2 separate regions of the Homo sapiens genome follow, and region 1 is linked to region 2. The links are contacts of gene promoters, found by promoter capture Hi-C in blood cells and fetal thymus (Javierre and others, 2016). All regions are on one chromosome and are shown on one strand. The core of a region is centred on a gene start or on the middle of the fragment in contact, and the rest is flanking DNA. Distances in the headings are between cores, read along the strand shown. Region 1 has its middle 26 kb from the start of MIA2. Region 2 holds the start of SEC23A (SEC23 homolog A, COPII component).

Region 1 (2,700 bases), core at 60-2,559, 100 kb before region 2:
GAGAAACAGCAACCAATGGGATGTGTGTATGTATGTGTGTGTCTACATATATCTATATGAAGAGACTTATTTTTAAAAAATGTGTTTGTGTCAATTGTGCCTCTAGGTATGAGAAGAGATTTGTTATAAGGAATTGGTTCATGTAATTATGGAGGCTAAGAAGTCCCAATATTCTCAAATCAGCAAGCTGGAGATTGGGGAGAGCCAATGTGTGTTTATTTGGGTGGCTAGGAGATGTGGTAGATAGAGTTTTTATTATAAGGAGGAAAGTCTTCTGAGACACCTTTTTGCACCCATATCTGATTGCTAGGACTTCCAGCACTATATTGAAGAGCAGTGGTGAGAGTGAGTATCCTTGTCTTGTTCCCGTTCTTAGAGGGAATACTTTAAACTTTTCCCCATTCAGTATTATGTTGGCTGTGGGTATGTCATAGATGGCTTCTATTACATTAAGGTATGCCCCTTGTATGCTGATTTTGCTGAGGGTTTTAATCATAAAGCGATGCTGGATTTTGTCAAATGCTTTTTCTGCGTGTATTGAGATGATCATGTGATTTGTTTTTAATTATGTTTATGTGATGTATCACATTTATTGACTTGCATATGTTAAACCATCCCTGCATCCCTGGTATGAAACTAACTTGATTATAGTGAATTATCTTTTTTATGCGCTGTTGGATTCTGTTAGCTAGTATTTTGTTAAGGATTTTAACATCTATGTTCATCAAGGTTATCAGTCTGTAGTTTTCTTTTTTGGTTTTGTCCTTTCCTGATTTTGGTATTAGGGTGATGCTGGCTTCATAGAATGAATTAGGGAAGGTTCCTTCTTTCTCTATCTTGTGGAATAGTGTCAAAAGGATTGGTACCAATTCTTTGAATGTCCGGTAGAATTCTGCTGTAAATCCATCTGGTCCTGTACTTTTTCTTTGTTGGTAATTATTAAATTAACATTTCAATCTTGCTGCTTGTTATTGGTCTGTTCAGGACATCTAATTCTTCCTGATTTAAGCTAGGAGGGTTGTACTTTTCCAGGAATTTATCCATCTCTTCTAGGTTTTCTAGTTTACGTGCATAAAGGTGTTCATAGTAGCTTTGAATGCTCTTTTGTATTTTAGTGGTGTCTGTTGAAATATCTGCTGTTTCATTTCTTAATGAGGTTATTTGGTGGATTTTCTCTCCTCTTTTCTTGGTTAAGCTTGTTAATGCTCTATCAATTTTATTTATCTTTTCAAATAACCAGCTTTTTGTTTCATTTAGCTTTTGTAATTTTTTTGTTTCAATTTCATTTAGTTCTGCTCTGATCTTGATCATTTCCTTTCTTCTGCTGGGTTTGGGTTTGGTTTGTTCTTGTTTCTCTAGTTTCTTGAGGTATGACCTTAGAATGTCAGTTTGTGCTTGTTCAGTCTTTTTGATGTAAGCTTTTAGGCTATGAACTTTCCTCTTAGCACTGCCTTTGCTGTATCCCAGAGGTTTTGATAGGTTGTATCATTATTGTCGTTTAGTTTGAAGAATTTTTAAATTTCCATCTTGATTTCATTTTTGACCCAGTGCTCATTCACGAGCAGGTTATTTAATTTCCATGTATTTGCATGGTTTTGAAGGTTCCTTTTAGAGATGATTTCCAGTTCTATTTCACTGTGGTCTGAAAGAGTACTTGATATAATTTCAATTTCTTAAATTTATTGAGACTCATTTTGTGGCCTATCATATGGCCTATCTTGGAGAAAGTTCCATGCGCTGTTGAATAGAACGTGTATTCTGTGATTGTTGGATGAAATGTTCTGTATATATCTGTTAAGTCCATTTGTTCCAAGGTATAGTTTAAATCCATTGTTTCTTTGTTGACTTTCTGTCTTGACCTGTCTAGTGCTGTCAGTGGAGTACTGAAGTCCCCCACTATTATTGTGTTGCTGTCTATCTCATTTCTTAGGTCTATTAATAATTGTTTTATAAATTTGGGAGCTCCAATGTTAGGTGCATATATGTTTAGGATTGTGATATTTTCCTGTTGGACAAGGCCTTTTACCATTATATAATGTCCCTCTTTGTCTCTTTTAACTGCTGTTGCTTTAAAGTTTGTTTTATCTGATATAAGAATAGCTACCTCTGCTTGCTTTGGGCGTCCACTTGCAAGAAATCTCTTTTTCCATCCCTTTACTCTAAGTTTATGTGAGTCCTTATGTGTTAGGTGAGTCTACTAAAGGCAGCAGATAGTTGGTTGGTGAGTTCTCATCCATTCTGCAGTTCTGTATCTTTTAAGTGGAGCATTTAGGCCATTTACATTCAATGTTAATATTGAAATGTGAGGTACCATTGCATTCATTGTGCTATTTGTTGCCTGTGTACCTTGGGTTTTTTGGTTTTGGTTTTTGCTTTTTAACTTGTATTTTTGTTTTATAGGTCCTGTGTGATTTATGCTTTAAAGAGGTTCTGTTTTGATGTGTTTCCAGGATTTAAGATTTTTTTTTTTTGAGACAGAGTTTCAATCTGTCTCCCAGACTGGAGTGCAATGGCACAATCTTGGCTCACTGCAACTTCTGCCTCCCAGGTTCAGGTGGTTCTCCTGCCTCAGCCTCCCAAGTAGCTGGGATTACAGGGGCCCACCACCACGCCTAGCTAATTTTTGTATTTTTAGTAGAGATGTGGTTTCACCATGTTGCCCAGGCTAGTCTTGAACTCCTGACCTCAGGTGATCCACCC
Region 2 (2,700 bases), core at 198-2,697:
CAACACCTCTGCTGTGTGCTGTTAAGAATCTTCATTAAGGTAGCACCTTGAACCTACTTTATTTGGAAGCCTACACTAATTTTTGGCTTTCGATTCCCATTGCCCTCTTCAGGATTGTATTACAATTTGACAAGCAAACATCCTCTTCCACCTTCCAAAACAACTTTAGTACACACATTATAGAAAGGGAAATATGTTTGGTGCTTTTTTTTTTGAGACAGTCTCACTCTGTCACCCAGGCTGGAGTGCAATGGCGTGGTCTCGGCTCACTGCAACCTCCGCCTCCCGGGTTCAAGCAATTCTTCTGCCTCATCCTCCCGAGTAGCTGGGACTACAGGAGCGTGCCACCACACCCGGCTAATTTTTGTATTTTTAGTAGAGACGGTGTTTCACTATGTTGGCCAGGCTGGTCTCGAACTCCTTACCTTGTGATCCGCCTGCCTCCGCCTCCCAAAGTGTTGGGATTACAGGCGTGAGCCACCGCGCCCAGCCTGGTGCTGCTGTCTTATTTCTCATGAATATGAGCTTTCAAGGACAGGGACTTGATCTTTTTTTCCATTCCATAAAATGTTGATATGGCTAAACTTTGCAGGCTTTTAGGCGTTGTCATATATGCAATTAATTCCATGGGCACTTAATTTCATTCCCCTCACTGAAGGAAGGGGTTGTCTGAGACCACCAAGCTCTAATGTCTTACCAATCTGTTGCTTTCTCATTTTGTTCAACTTTTTTCTTGGAAAGAAAAACATTGAACATATCAAGATGAATCAGCCAAATATTGTACTGTGTGTGTGTTTTGGGGGTGGGGGGAGACAGAGTTGAAGTGGCAGAGGCAATGTAGGAGGAAAAGACAGGCTGACTAAAATACATAAATAGTACGTGAATTCTTTCGGGCCAGGGATCTGGGCCTACTTTGCCTGCATCATATTACCAGCATCTCAATTGTGTCTGGCACATAGTAAGTTTCAGTAAACATTTGTTGCACTAAGTGAAAGAATGAACTTTTCACTTTTTTCAGAGATGTGATTTGTGATTCTCGGAATCAACCAGGGTCCTAAGATGTCCTGGAGGCCGTCTCCATTTCTCTCGGTGAGCTAAGGTGTCCGAGTGGCACCAGTTCTCCACTCTTTCTGCGACCTGCAGGGAGTGGGATACGCTGTGGCTTTAGGGAGCTGGGAAAGGCGCTCTCTCCCGGTCCCGCTCTGCCCGGTCCCACGCCCCTCGGCCGTCCGGCTGCCTGGGTCTTCCGGGTTCTTCCGCCCCTCTGGCTCGGTCCCCGCTACCTCTCCTCCCTCCTCCCCTCTCGGTACCTTCGCCCGCCGCGCGCCTTTCTCAAATCCTCCGGTTATTAAGCAAGCTCAGGGGTCCGGTGGCCTGCCCTGGTAACTCTGCGCCCGCCCCTTCCTGCCCCCTTCCTGCCCTCACGCCCCGTCCCCTCCTCTTGACGTGGCAGAGGCGGCGCCAGCCATGTTGGCCGGGCGGAGGTCTTCGCTGAGGCCCGGGGCGGGGTGGCGCCACCCCTGATTGCGGTGCCACGGACTGCTCCTGCTGGGCGGAGAGGACAGATTTTGCAAAGCGGAGGCTGCGACGGGTCCTGCAGGGGGACAGTGAGGAAAGGGCCGCCTCGTCTCCGCTCCTGGGGGACCGCAGGTGCGCAGCGGGGAGCGGGGGCGGGCTGGCGGCGGCGGGCTGGGGGCTGGGATCCTGGGGTGGTCCCGGCTCTGCCCTCTCGGTGCCCCGGGGCCAGCGAGGTGTGCTGGAGGCTGAGGCCCGGTCCGGCGCGGGGAGCGTTGAGTGCTGAGCTTGCCACCCTCTCACCCACTTCGCTCTGCCGGGGCCGGGGGCCCGGCCTCCTCCAGCTCCCCTGGATTAGGTGGAAAGATGTGGAAAACGGTGGTTCGAGCATCTCGCCCAGCACCCACCCCCACCTCCTGGGCCACCCACCTCCACCCAAGTCCATCATCGCCTCTGGGCCCTTGGACTTACTGTTTCATTCCTTGCCAGATATGGAGTGTCCTAGACTTTGAACCCAATTGACTACGTCACCGTAATTCAGCCTTGGAAGTTAAAGGGGTTAAAGGGGAAAAGAGCTTGGTAAAGATAATGCCTTGGGTTTTGATTACAAAGAGTTCAGTTTTCCAGCAGGACCAGCCCTATCTCACTGGGCTTTCTTTCTACGGTAGGTAGTGTTTCCCGATTTGGTGGTAAAGGTACTGCCTGAGGAAGGTCATAGTAAATCTACATCAATCACTGAAGTGGGGATGTGGAATTCTCGTTTTCACTTGAACTCCCTCAACCTCTACCGTCCAAAGCCATGGATAACTAGCCAAATTAACTTGGTTTAAAAAGGTTTTAGATTTAAATATAAATGCATGTTGAGTTTTCCTTCTCTTTCTCCTCTGGTAGTGAATGAACATCATTTCAGAAGTCCAGCTATTTTTTTTTTTTCTGAGACGGAGTCTTGCTTTGTCGCCCAGGCTGGAGTGCAGTGGCGCAATCTCGGCTCACTGCAACCTCCGCCTCCCTGGTTCAAGCGATTCTCCTGCTTCAGCCTCCCGAGTAGCTGGGATTACAGGGGCGAGCTACTATGCCCGGCTAATTTTTGTATCTTTAGTAGAGACGGGGTTTCACCATGTTGGCCAGGCTGGTCTCGAACTCCTGACCTCAGGTGATCCGCCCGCCTCGGCCTCCCAAAGTGCT

The links. The method cuts DNA at HindIII sites, captures the fragments that hold promoters and counts their contacts. A CHiCAGO score of 5 or more calls a contact.
Region 1: a contact is called between a fragment that was not itself captured here and the fragment with the promoter of SEC23A in region 2, in 1 of 17 cell types (total CD8 T cells). The highest score is 5.2, in total CD8 T cells.

Annotation. Positions count from the first base shown.
Region 1 is chr14:39,206,301-39,209,000 of GRCh38, reverse strand. It overlaps the pseudogene LOC100313942. Among named protein-coding and RNA genes, the nearest start is that of MIA2, 26 kb to the left of the region's middle. The HindIII fragment of the contact is 223 bases long and covers 1,198-1,420 here.
Region 2 is chr14:39,101,982-39,104,681 of GRCh38, reverse strand. It overlaps SEC23A (SEC23 homolog A, COPII component), which reads left to right and starts at 1,447. Exons shown (of 20, transcript NM_006364.4): 1 at 1,447-1,650. It overlaps SEC23A-AS1 (SEC23A antisense RNA 1), which reads right to left and starts at 1,542. Exons shown (of 2, transcript NR_146545.1): 1 at 1,311-1,542; 2 at 870-1,137. RefSeq lists silencers at 1,232-1,461, 1,622-1,741, 1,762-1,841. The HindIII fragment of the contact is 19,881 bases long and covers 1-2,700 here.